3 separate regions of the Homo sapiens genome follow, and all the other regions are linked to region 2. The links are contacts of gene promoters, found by promoter capture Hi-C in human tissues and cell types (Jung and others, 2019). All regions are on one chromosome and are shown on one strand. The core of a region is centred on a gene start or on the middle of the fragment in contact, and the rest is flanking DNA. Distances in the headings are between cores, read along the strand shown.

Region 1 (3,949 bases), core at 582-3,081, 45 kb before region 2:
ACCTCCCAAGCCGCATCCCTTCCGTCTGGGCCGTCCCGGCAGAAACCACCGCCCTCGGCCTCGGCCGTCCCGGCAGAAACCATCGCCCTCGGCCTGGGCCTTCCCACCAGAAACCATCGCCCTCGGCCTGGGCCGTCCCGGCAGAAACCATCGCCCTCGGCCTGGGCCTTCCCGGCAGAAACGCTTCCACTCTGGAACCGTCAGTTGACAGCTCTCGCCACAGAACTCAGGGGAATGGCCTCGGCCAGGTGATGCACTGGCCATATGCTTCCATGCTGAGCCACAGGTTTCTCCAGAGGGGTCGGGACGCTGAGTGTTGTAATAAGCTCTCTAAAACACTATTTATTTGAAATAGGATCCCGGCAGCTTTATGTCAGTTGGTTTTACAAAACAGCACTGAAGTCTCCTAAGACTATTTTCAGACTGAGTCTGCACTGTGCGTCCGCCTGATGCCCAAACTGCAAGGATGACCGTCACTGTCCCAACCTAGGAACCATCTGCTGCCCAGCAAAGTCACTGTTCAACAGCCCGAGACACAGCCCACCAGGGTCCCTAGAACACCCTGCTCAAGCCGGGTGCAGTGGGTCACGCCTGTCATCCCAGCACTTTGGGAGGCCGAGATGGGCGGATCACGAGGTCAGGAGATCGAAACCATCCTGGCTAACACCATGAAACCCTGTCTCTACTAAAAATACAAAAAATTAGCCGGGCGTGGTGGTGGGCGCCTGTAGTCCCAGCACTTTGGGAGGCTGAGGCAGGCGGATCACGAGGTCAGGAGATTGAGACCATCCTGGCTGACATGGTGAAATCCTGTCTCTACTAAAAATAGAAAAAATTAGCCGGGCGTGGTGGCGGGCGCCTGTAGTCCCAGCTACTGGGGAGGCTGAGGCAGGAGAATGGTGTGAACCCGGGAGGCGGAGCTTGCAGTGAGCCCAGATGGCGCCACTGCACTCCAGCCTGGGAGACAGAACGAGACGTTGTCTCAAAAAAAAAACCAAACAAACAAAAAAAACCCAGGGCAACATGCCATGAACCACCCGGGTCCCCAGAGCACCCAGATGTACAGCTGGCTGCTGTAGCCATGCCCACAAACCGCCCGGGTCCCTGGAATACCCAGGGCAACATGCCGTGAACCGCCCGGGTCCCCAGAGCACCCAGATGTACAGCTGGCTGCTGTAGCCATGCCCACGAACCACCCGGGTCCCTGGAATACCCGGGGCAACATGCCGAGAACCGCCCGGGGTTCCTGACACCAGCCTCCCACCGTGACACCAGACGCAAAGGCTCCATGTGCACGCAGTGCCAGCCTGGTCCCCCAGGACCTTCAAGACAAGCTCGGCAGCAACTGCTTCCTTTCAGACCAACATGGGAGGACTTTCTGCCCATGTTCTGTGGCAACGATTACAGCGCTTCCTTCTAAATAACAGATGAAAAAATCCCACAGAGACTATTTAAAAATATTCCCCTCCTCAGTTTAAAGACGTTATAATCAGATCAGAGCACAAGTAAATGAAGTGCTATTATCTAGTTTAAGGATCTCCAAATATTAGGAGTCACTCTGAACAACACCACTGACACACACATACAAAACTATCCACACTTGATCCACACTGGCTGATGCTCTGACAATGCAGTGCCTCCCAGATCGTGAGGATTTCAAATTTCCACCAGCATATCCTACACCATGCCCTCCACTCAAGAACTACCCCTAAAGGAGGAAAGGAATTCTGAGAACCCAACAGCTGGAGCTAAGCAGGGAAAAGGGTTAGGGTTAGAACAAACAAAAATTCGCCACCAACAAACCCAGGCCAAGTGGTGTTGTCCAGCTTGTGCACTGCCGGAAGCCAAGGAGCTCTATTAGTTAGAGATACAGCCAGGACCAGTGCAGGCCTCTTACATAAGGGACGCATATCAGGCAGAGGGGAGTTTTAAGTGTGGTCAGGTGGCTGAGTGAGTTTCTCTCAGCTACTATTCCCTGTTCCACAAAAGTTTAAAGGATAGTTTACCTGAGAGAAGAAAAGTTATAGGAAGAAAAAATAGCCAGCAAATACCAAAACAAGCTTTGTGCCAAGTGTGCACAGCCCCCTTCCCCGACTGAGTGTCAGGAGGCGGAGAGGAGGAAGGAGGAGGTGCTGATGATACAGGCACTCACAGGTCTGACTGGGTCACTTTCTCATTCCACTCTCCAAGTTTCTCAGAAGTTTTCACATAGCTAAAAACAGAAAGTCTACAGTGAATTATTTAGAAGAACAATTTTAACTCAGGCATCAAACTGCAGGTGAAGTTCCAGGGAAGACAGAGAGGGACCAGCTGGCAGGAACATCAACTCCACAGACGGCCCAAAAATGGGGTCCACTGCCTCAACCAGGCCCTGTGCAGGCCCCAGGCCGCCAGGTGAGCTGTGGGTATAGCGGAACTGATGTTCCCTTTTCTGTCACCTGGCAGTAGCCCCTGGTCTCTCGCTAGGAGATTCTTGGGCAACAGCACTGCTGTGGGGGACTGGAAGGGCACAGCCCACAGCTCCAAAACACCCTTGGGATTCAAAACTTACGATGTCCTAGGACAAAAACATGGGCCTCTCATATGTGAGATTTATGAAATGTGACCTGTTCTGTCTTTGTATAGGAACATGTCTTCTGGGAAACATTCCACAGCCACCCCAACCTTGAAGGGTATGTTTCAGAGAAGCCACGTGGACAGGGCCAAGTGAGAAAGCAGCACTCCCCAAATTCAGAGCTGAGCGACATCTGGGACAGGTGTCCCAGGGTTATAGGACCACGTCGTCATGTAGGACCACGTCGTCATCGGGGAGGGTCAGAGTCCCTAGGGTTGTGGGACCATATGGTCCTATATATAAATATATATATATATATATTTTTTTTTTTTGAGACAGAGTCTTGCTCTGTCACCCAGGCTGGAGGGCAGTGGCATAATTTTGGCTCACTGCAACCTCCGCCTCCCGGGTTAAAGAGATTCTCCTGCCTCAGCCTCCCTAGTAGCCGAGATCACAGGTGCGCACCACCACGCCCAGCTAAATTTTTTTATTTTTTAGTAGAGACAGGGTTTCTCCATGTTGGTCAGGCTAGTCTTGAACTCCTAACCTCAAGTGATACACCCGCCTCAGCCTCCCAAAGTGCTGGGATTGTAGGCATGAGCCACCATGCCCGGCCCATATGGCCATATCTGGGTCAGAGGCTGTGACCATGCCACACCCACAACAAGGACCACAGAAAAACCGCTCTTGCCAAGGACCTGATCAGTGCTCTCTCAAGTCTGGACCCTGAAACAGTCTTCCTATCATTTTCCACCAGGACAACTAGCCAGTGTGTCTGCCTTTTTAGAACACGTATATAAGCCGGATGTGGTGGCTCACACGTGTAATCCCAAGCATTTTAGGAGGCCAAAACAAGAGGATTGCTTGAGCCCAGAAATTTGAGACCAGCCTAGGTAGCAAAGCAAGACCCTGTCTCTATAAAACGTGAAAAAATTAGCCAGGCATGGTGGCGCACGCCTGTCATCCCAGCTACGAGGGGGGTTGAGTTGGGAGGATTGCTTGAACCCAGGAGGTTGAGGTTGCAGTGAATCATGATTGCGCCACTGCACTCCAGCCTGGGTGACAGAGCGAAACCATCTCAAAAAAGAATAATAATAAAAAAAAAAAAAAGGCCAGCGTGGTGGCCAGCACTTTGGGAGGCTGAGGTGGGTGGATCACAAGGTCAGGAGTTCAAGACCAGCCTGGCCAACATGGTGAAACCCCATCTCTACTAAAAACACACACACACACACACACACACACACAAAAAAAAAAATCAGCCGGGCGCGGTGGGAGGCGCCTGTAATCCCAGCTACTTGGGAGGCTGAGGCAGGAGAATCGCTTGAACCCGGGGGGCAGAGGTTGCAGCGAGCTAAGATCACGCCACTACACTCCAGCCTGGGCGACAGAGTGAGA
Region 2 (4,353 bases), core at 1,355-3,854:
TTATCAGCTCTTGGAATAACGGTCTGTAGGACTTAATCAGGGCGCTGTCTCTGAGACCGGTCTTGGTTCTTCCTTTTTGACATACTGTCTTCGTCTCCAGGCTGCTTGACCTTCTGTTGGTTCTTGGAGCAGAAAAGTCAGGAGTCTCTGTCCCGTCACTGGCAGTGTTGCCGAGGGGGAAGCGGGGAGGAGTGGGGCTCCCAGGTGAGAGGGGGCCCAGAGCCTCATCCGCCCCGTTCATTCTAGAACTCAGCACGTTTCTTTTTTTTTCTTTTTTGAGACAGAGTCTTGCTCTGTCGCCCAGGCTGGAGTGCAGCGGCACGAACTTGGCTCACTGCAAGCTCCACCTCCCGGGTTGACGCCATTCTCCTGCCTCAGCCTCCCGAGTAGCTGGGACTACAGGCACCTGCCACCACGCCTGGCTAATTTTTTGTATTTTTAGTAGAGACGGGGTTTCACCGTGTTAGCCAGGATGGTCTCGATCTCCTGACCTCGTGATCCGCCTGCCTCGGCCTCCCAAAGTGCTGGGATTACAGGCGTGAGACACCGCGCCCGGCCCTCAGCAAGTTTCTACCAAGACAGGCAGCCCTAACCTGGCAGGTGGGGTTGGCCTGGGTCGTGGTGAGATCAAGGTTTGGTTCTTATGGGCAGGCCTCCTAAGCGATGACTGAGTGCCACTGTGTGTTCCGCCAGGCAGCTGCTGCTGCTCTCCATCCCTGCATGGACAACGGACATGGCAAACCATCAACACTGCTCTCCTTGGAGGCTGTCTAGGGAGGTCCAGACATCTTGGGAGAGACTGGGGTTCTCTTTTGCGCAAGAGAGCATGGGCAGGCTCTGCGGGAGGCCCTTGGGGCAGGCATCAGGGCTCTGGTCCTCCTTGCTTTGGCTCGGTGGGCCCGAGCTCTCCTGTCTCCCCAGGCCTCCTTTCCTCCGTGGGGTACAACTGGGCTCTGGGTGGGCAGGTGGGGGCTCCTGCAGGCAGTGCTGTTTTCTCCAAGGGGGATGCACGTGACCCGCCAGACCCTCCTGGAAGCCGCCTCTTCTCAGGGTGGTTGTGCTCAGCCCCCACTTCCCGAAGGTCGGTGAGGCTGGGGCTACAGTTTCAGACCAGAGCAGGCAGTGCCACCGAGAGGGTGCCGCGCGAGGTAGGCCGGCGACGGGGCTTCCTGGGCCGCAGTGCCATCCCGGCGACCTTGGCGAGGGGATGGGAACGGGGTGTCCGCACAGCCATTTCCAGGCGCCCGCGACGGCAGTAAGGGAGTGTCCCAGGCGTTGGTCCCGGCAGCCACACCTCGCTTCGCCTTTGCTCACTCATGGAGAGCCCTCAGCCGCCTCCCACTGCCGCTCCTGAATGCGCCTCACACATCCAGATTTGAAAGCACCCATAGGGCCGCCGCCTCCCACCTCCCGAGGAATCCGCTGCGCTGGGCCCGCAGGGAGGCAGGCTGGACGGCCCGGGCGCCTCCCCATTGGTTGGCCGGGCCGGGCTCGACTCCCTCGCGCGGCTGCCGGCCACAGGCTCACCTCCCTTCCCGCCGCGCCCGGGGAGAGGAAGCGAGGTGGCCTTTACCCCTGCGCAGGCCGGCCAGGAATGCGGGGCCGCGCTTCCCACTCTACCCGCCCGAGGGCTGAGGACGGCGGAGGCGAGAAGCGACGCGCAGAGTCCGGGCGCCGAGTGGTGGAGACGCGTCCCAGGCCGTTCGGATCGGGGCTGCACACGGGCTGGGGCGAGGCCCGGGCCGCTGGTTCCCGCCCCCTCCCGGAGCCATTCGTCCCCCGCAGACAACACGACGGGAGGGACCCACGCGCGGCCGCCGGTGCCCCTAGTCAGCCAAAAGCGAGCCCCACTGGCGGGCACCCCCACGAGGCCTGCGCCCGAGGTGCGCCGATCTCCGGGTGCGCCGAGGCCCCCGAGGGTAGGCGCGCGCGGTGCCCAGGCCCTTCCAGACCCCGCACCCCGGGCGGCCTTCCTTGGGGGCGCCTTTTCCGCACCGCGAGCGGCCCGCGTTGATGCCCGGCCGGGCTGGGGGAGTCGCCAAGTTTGCGAGACGCGCGCAGTGCAACCGCGCGTCAGGCGCGGGGACGGCCGGTGACCTGGGCACCCGCGCGCCCCCGAGGAACCTGCGCGTGGGCAGCGCCCGGTGCGCGGCCCGGGAAGGGAGCGGGTGCCCTCGCCGGGGTCGCCGCTCCCGTGGGGTGTTTCCAGGCTGCTCCGCGCTCGCGGGGCAAGGGCGCAGCGGGGGCCAGGGGGACCCCCGCGCCGCGCCGCCCCAGCCCCCCGCCAGCCCAGGGGAGGGGGCTTCCCACAATGCCCAGCGAGCTCCAGCCCGCACTTCCGCTGTCCGGCTGCCCGCGGGGGGGAGAACGGACCCCCGGCGCGGCCCCCTGCGACCCCGCGGCGCGGCGCCGGGAGCCGAGCGAGGGGCGGGGCCGGCGGCCGGGCCGGCGTGGGCGGGGCCCGGGGCGGTGGCCGCGGCCGGGGCGCGGCGCGGGCCAATCAGCGGCGGCCGGGCGCGCGCCGGGGGGCGGGGTCAGGGTCCGCGGGCGGGGCGCGCGCGCGCGGGCGGCGGGGGCCGCGGGGTTGGAGCGGGCGCGGGGGCGCGCGCCGGCCTGACGGACCGACGGACGGACGGACGGACCGAGCAGCCCCGGCGAGCGCGCAGCTCGGACCCGCCCGGACGCAGCGCCCTCCCGGCGGCGGCGGCGATCACCGGCGCCGGCCCGGCGGCCGCGGCGCCCGCCCTCGCCCGCGCCCCATGGGGTCACAGGTAAGCGGCGCCGGCTCATTGTCCGCGCGGCCGGGCGGGCGCATCGCGGCGGGGGCCGGGCCCGGAGCCGGGAGCCGGGAGCCGGGGCCGCTGCGAGCCCGGGCGCGCCCCCGCCGCCGGCCGCCCCGCCACGCCCCGCCCCGCGGGGGCGCCCTCCCGGGGGCCATCGGCGCTCCCAGCTGCGGCGCGGGCTCCGGGGGCGGCGGCGGAGACCCCGGCCCGGCCCCCGCGGGTGCCCCCCAGGCCGGCGGCGCGGGGCGGGGCGCGCGGGGGCGGCGCGGGTTCCCCGCGGGGCTGAGCGCGGAGGCGGCTGGGCTGCCCCGGCCCCTCGGCCCCCGGCACCTCCCGCCGCCGCCGCGCTCCCTCCCCGGCACCTCCGAGAGGGGAATTTTCCAGCTGGTAATTTCTGCTGCGTCAACGCCTGGCCCCGAGGCAGCCCGGGGGCGTCTTGGCGCCCCCCGCCCGCGCCCCCCGCCGGCACAGCCCAGCCGCACCCGGAGCCGCCCGCGCCGAGTTTGCCAAGAGTCGGAACTGCGGGAGGTGGGCGCGGGCGGGTCCCGGCGCCCTGAGGCCGGGGGGTCATTGTCTCCCCGGACGCCGGGCGCCGGCCTGGTCTCCATCTTAATCGCCGGCCGAACCGGGGCGCAGGGGCCTCGGGGCGGGGCGGCTCGGGGCGCGGAGGGCTCGGGGCGCGCGGGGCGGACGGGGCGCGCGGAGGAAGCGGGGTCCGCTGCGAGCCGCGTCTTTGTTTCTCTGTAAATAGACATGTCAGTTTCGCGGGGGAGCGCGAGCCGGTGTCTGACAACTCAATCCCTAAGGCAAACGGGGAATTCTCTGCGCCAGAGGGAGGGCTCCTGCTAGTTGGGGTTCCCCTGGCCCCGCTGACAGATTCACTGTTTGTAGGTTTAACGAAGCACACACAATAGGGCTGGACCGAGGAGCCAGGGTACAGACCAGATGGGGCGAAGAACGGATATTTTCTGACAGCGAAGAAATATAAACAAAAGAAAGTTTGAGATTCGCAGCGAATTTCCTCTCTCGCTTTCCGTGCTGCAATCTCAACGATGCATTTGGAGTGGATTACGGTGGCAAGATTGTGATCAGCATTGTTTAAAGAAATGCTAATTAGAAACGTGTTTAGCGCGCGGCCTGGGCGCAGACACCTGTGCGCCGAGAACTCACGGGCATTTTAATTGTATCGATTGTAGAATCTTTCATATTGGCTCTATTATCAGAGCTAACTTCCCGTTTGGGTAACAGACTGGATACATCTCTGCTGCTGGCACTCACGCTGCCTCTGCAAGGCACTATTTCACTCTACAAGAGTGGAAAATAGTTTGTTCATCAAAAGGAAATGTATAGAAGGGGTTTTTCACATGAATAATGAAGCAAGCGACAGTATTTATCAGAGTAGAACCTTTCTGCTCGGTGTGTTTTACGTGTTTCCAACTGGCACTTTTGGGCACCTCAGCCTGGTTACCACTGCAGAAAGGACTGAGGAGTGAGGGGAGTACTTGGGCACAAGTTACTGCAAATTTAGGTGGGAACTTACTGTGTCCCCTAAAAAGCTAGACATCTTCTC
Region 3 (4,356 bases), core at 1,537-4,036, 63 kb after region 2:
AAATGGGATGGTGGTCGCAGATTTCTGAATTTAGAGAACCATTAAATATGCAGGCAGCAGGCCAGCAGCACAGAGCAGCCGACACTCAGAGGGCCTTTGGGGATGGGTTCTGGAACATTCTAGAAAAACTGAACTAGTTTCCTTGGATTTGTAGGACCAGTAACCTTGGCTTGGCTGTTAAATTAAACAGATGGCAGTTTCATTACTAGACCATCAATCTCTGACATCCCTGTCAGAGGACTTGCCATACTTCTCATTCAATTCTGTTGAACTTCGTGCTTACTTTTATTCCTTTTTCAGCAGTAGGCGGGCCTCCTCTCTGTTACTAGACATTGTTCTCCCAGTAGAAACCATGAAAACTGTCATTTAGGCTCAGAACATGGCTGCCCACAAGTTGTGCTGGGCTGGCGCTGATCTCCTGGGGCCTTGAGGTGTGTGCTGCCTTCGTGTCTCCAAACAGCACGAGGAAGCCAACTTCACACTGACAAGCCGAGGATGCGCCGCCGGCCGGTCGGCCGGGGACAGGAGACTGTAAGCCCCGCATCAGCCGTGCCCGGAAATGTGGGACGCGGCCTCTGGAGCGTTGCTGGTGTAACCCCCCTCACTCTTTTAAAGAGTCAAGGATTCTAGGGACAGCCATGGCGGTGCGGTGCCGCCTCCCGTGAAGCTCACCCCAGCTCCCTGCAGTCCTTTCCTGCGGGGACGGCTTCTGACCAGCTCGTTACTGGAGAAGGTGGCCGTGGAGATGGCGGAGCGGCTGGGCCCGGGCGTCAGGAGGCGTTTTGCAGAGAACAGTTGCAGCTTGTCTTTGTTTTGGTTGTGGTTTAAAGACTGTTTCCCTGTGGTATTTAAAGGATGAATCGAGAACTTTAACTTGATTCTGGATCGAGACTGGAATTGTGAACAGTTGCCGACTAAAGGGCATTTGGTGGACATGGTGCTGCACTTTCAGGTGGTCCAGGCCAGCGTGCCTTGGCGTTCTCATCAGGAGAGCATTTCTGCAGTCCAGAGGTGTTCACGCTCCGACTTCCTCCACCAAAACCCTCTGTTGGAATCACTTGGCTCCTAGGAAAGAGACACACCGCAGAGAAGTCATGGGTGGAGACCTCGGGCATTTGGGGTTGGCCAGCTGATCAAAGCGTTCAAACACCTGCCTCCAGCGAGACCCTTGGGGCATCACCGGGCTCACACCGCATGCCGGGAAGATCGTCAGTGCTTCTGGAACTCTCTAGAACCCAGCAGCTGGTGCGCGTTCCTGTGGGTGAGACTCCTCCTTTCCTGTGTTCCCAGGGCCTGGGTCCCTTGTGAGGGTCGCTGATGGCAGAACAGAAGCCCCTCCACCCTCCACCCTCAGAGCCACAGGATGAGCTCTGGGGAACCGCCAGACCCAGCCCAGGGAGCCGGCACAGCCTCCCCCAGCTCAGGTAAGACACCAGGGTGGCCAGCTTTGTCTGGGGCAACTGGGCCAAACACTTGGGGCATGGTGTCCCTGACACCCATGTGTGCGTGGCCACGGCCCAGATGAGCCCGGGCACCTCCGAGGAGGCACTTTGGTGGCACCTGCTCTCCATGTGCCCTCCTCTCCCACCCTCAACTCAGCCAGGTACAGAGAAAACCCATTTTAGGTCAGCCGAGTTATTCGCTTTTGCAATAGTAATTGTTCCACTCCCACAGCAACAGGTTGTATGAAGTTGAATTGGTTTTTATATTTTGAGCAATTTTTTTCCCTTAATGTAAAGACATTCAATTCATGTTGCAGTGGGTTGGAAACATCAGTTCCTAGAGCTCAGTGGTGGTGGCCGGTCCCTTCCAGGCCTGGTCACTGCACATTTCTGGCCAACCCCCGACTCGGAGGCCACTGCCCCAGTCCGAGCCTCACAGAGCCCTGGTGGAAGCCGTTCCACTGCCCCAGCCCGAGCCGCGCAGAGCCCTGGTGGAAGGCATTCTCCTTCCTGTGCCTGAAGTCGCGGAGTCTTTTCTATAAAGAAAGGGCCATGGGGTGTGTACCTCCCTGGAGAAAAAAAAATTCTTTAACAAGAGCTCAACCACTTTTTTTTTTTTTCTTTTGAGACAGAGTCTGGCTTTGTCACCCAGGCTGGAGTGCAGTGGTGCGATCTTAGCTCACTGCAACCTCCACCTTCGGGGTTCAAGAGATTCTCCTGCCTCAGCCTCCCAAGTAGCTGGGATTACAGGTTAGGGTATCCCGTTGGGCACACCACCACGCCTGGCTAATTTTTGTGTTTTTAGTAGAGATGAGGTTTCACCATGTTGGCCAGGCTGGTCTTGAACTCCTGACCTCAGGTGATCCGCCTGCCTCGGCCTCCCAAAGTGCTGGGATCACAGGCATGAGCCTCCTTGGTCTCCCAAAGTGCTAGGATGAGCCTCGGTGCCCAGCCTTAACCACACATTTTGGATTTTGAAATTAATTGCTATTCCCACACGAGTCGTTTCTCATTTCTCACAGGATAGTTTTGGTGGCAGGTGTTAATGTTTTGTTAATGCATATATTTTTGAGTGTCTCTTTATTGAGAATTAATTACAGTCTTCCTTTCCAGATGGCTGTTGACAGGCTGTCTTAGTAGTGATTGGACAACATCCCAGGTGAGTGAGGGCAGCAGAGTGTCCACACTAGAAGTCTTGCTGCTTTTATCCCATCCTGACGGTCTGTAACTTGTCTGTCTCTGGTTCCAGATCGACACCTCTCATGGCGTGGAGAGCTGGGCGGAGCAGTCCTCTTCCAGAGTTGGCTCCCGCTGGCATGAGGGTGGGTTTCTGCAGGGCCTGTGGCCTGTCCAGGATGCCTGAGGAGTCTTCTTCCAGCCCAGGCCTGGATGGACTTGCCCAGCCCTGGATGGACTTGCCCAGCCCTGGGGGCAGCCAGTGCCAGGACGGCTTGGCCTCGCCTGGAGCTCCTTGGGCGCTGACAGCTTTACCCTGAGGCCAGCTAAGGAGCTCTGTGAAGCAAGTGACAGCAGCGAAGGCACCTCCCCTGCTGGAAGTGGTTTGGGACAGAACTGCGGGTGCCTCTGGTCTGTGCGCTGGAGCCGGCGTTTGCTTTGACCTCAGTGCTGCGGCCAGAGCTTTGGCGTCCGGGTCCCGGGCTCCAGCTGGGTGCAGCTGCCCAGGCGAGAGAGCTCTCAAGTGTGTGGGAGCAGGAGGGGAACTGGGTGACCGAACAGCCGCGTCGGAGGGGGATATCTGCGGAGAGCTGTGACTGGGAGCCGGTGTGTGCCTTTCTGTGGTCATTTCTCGAGTCCTCTGCCGGCTGCTGCCAGGTGAAGGCATCTCCATGCCCAGCCGGTGGGCAGCTGGGGCGGGTGGACCTCCAGCTTCTGCCCGACGGGGTTCAGATGACCGAGATCCTACGGGATTGCCAATGTGTGGGGACGGGGGGCTTTCAGGGGCGGGAAAACATGTCCCCATCCGTGGGAAGTGGAGCCACGTGGCTCCGACCCAGCAACTTTCTAGGGAGATCGAAAGACAAAGCCTGCCACGGCGTCCTTGGCGGTGTGTGCCTGGCATGTGCGCGGCGCTCCACGTGTCGGCGTGGAATTACGGGAATGTGCTGCTTTTCAGAAAGAGCGCCCCGCGGTGCCCTTGCCCGTCCTCGTCGGACGTGTTAGGTTCAATGTCAGCTTTCTATTCAGAGCAGGTGGTTGTGGACTTGGTGGGCTCCAGGGACCCAGAGCAGCAGGTGGGCTCAGGAGGGGGATAGGCATCCCCCATTCCAGATTCTGGAATACCCAGAAGCACCATCTGGCAGGGAAGGTGGCGTGTCGGGGGAGCCCGCTCCCAGGCCAGAGACGCGTCCCACCATCTGCCCAACAGCCCATCCCCTTTCCGGACGGTCCCCATCTCCACTGCAGCTGGAACCATCTGCTGGAGCCTCCCCTGGTTCCTCAAATCTTTATGTTCCTTTATGTTCCTGAGATGAGTTTCTGAAGATGGAGAAAAGTGGGATTTCTAGTGAGGTTTGGGGCATTTTACCAAAGGTGACCGCGCTCTGCTGGCATCTGTGAGGGTCGGGAGAGCAGTCCACACAGGCCGTGCCTTCTGAGCTGCCAGACGCCTCTTTATGCAAATGCCTGTTGGAGTTTTAATATCAGTTGTAGAGAAAATGAAGCTTTTTTTTTTTTTTTGGTCAAAATGGGATCTCTTGGCCAGGTGCAGTGGCTCATGCCTGTGATCCCAGCACTTTGGGAGGCCAAGGTGGGCGGATCACCTGAGGTCGGGAGTTTTAGACCAGCCTGGCCAACATGGCGAAATCGTATCTCTACTAAAAATAGAAAAATTAGCTGGGCGTGGTGGCGGGCGCCTGTAATCCCAGCTATTTGAGAGGCTGAGGCAGGAGAATCA

The links. The method cuts DNA at HindIII sites, captures the fragments that hold promoters and counts their contacts. A contact is called where the count stands out against the background at its distance.
Region 1: a contact is called between a fragment that was not itself captured here and the fragment with the promoter of ZBTB46 in region 2, in 4 of the 25 tissues and cell types used here (adrenal gland, dorsolateral prefrontal cortex, lymphoblastoid cells and 1 more).
Region 3: a contact is called between a fragment that was not itself captured here and the fragment with the promoter of ZBTB46 in region 2, in 4 of the 25 tissues and cell types used here (IMR-90 fibroblasts, dorsolateral prefrontal cortex, liver and 1 more).

Annotation. Positions count from the first base shown.
Region 1 is chr20:63,874,079-63,878,027 of GRCh38, reverse strand. TPD52L2 (TPD52 like 2) reads right to left here. Exons shown (of 7, transcript NM_003288.4): 4 at 2,153-2,212. Among named protein-coding and RNA genes, the nearest start is that of TPD52L2, 11 kb to the right of the region's middle. The HindIII fragment of the contact is 6,379 bases long and covers 1-3,949 here.
Region 2 is chr20:63,829,515-63,833,867 of GRCh38, reverse strand. ZBTB46 (zinc finger and BTB domain containing 46) reads left to right here and starts at 2,604. Exons shown (of 5, transcript NM_001369741.1): 1 at 2,604-2,771. RefSeq lists a silencer at 2,447-2,586 and an enhancer at 4,169-4,353. The HindIII fragment of the contact is 9,346 bases long and covers 631-4,353 here.
Region 3 is chr20:63,766,318-63,770,673 of GRCh38, reverse strand. All of the region lies in intron 3 of ZBTB46 (zinc finger and BTB domain containing 46), which reads left to right. LOC124904956 (a long non-coding RNA gene) reads left to right here. Exons shown (of 2, transcript XR_007067720.1): 2 at 1-202. Among named protein-coding and RNA genes, the nearest start is that of ZBTB46-AS2, 25 kb to the right of the region's middle. RefSeq lists a silencer at 1-38. The HindIII fragment of the contact is 8,976 bases long and covers 1-4,356 here.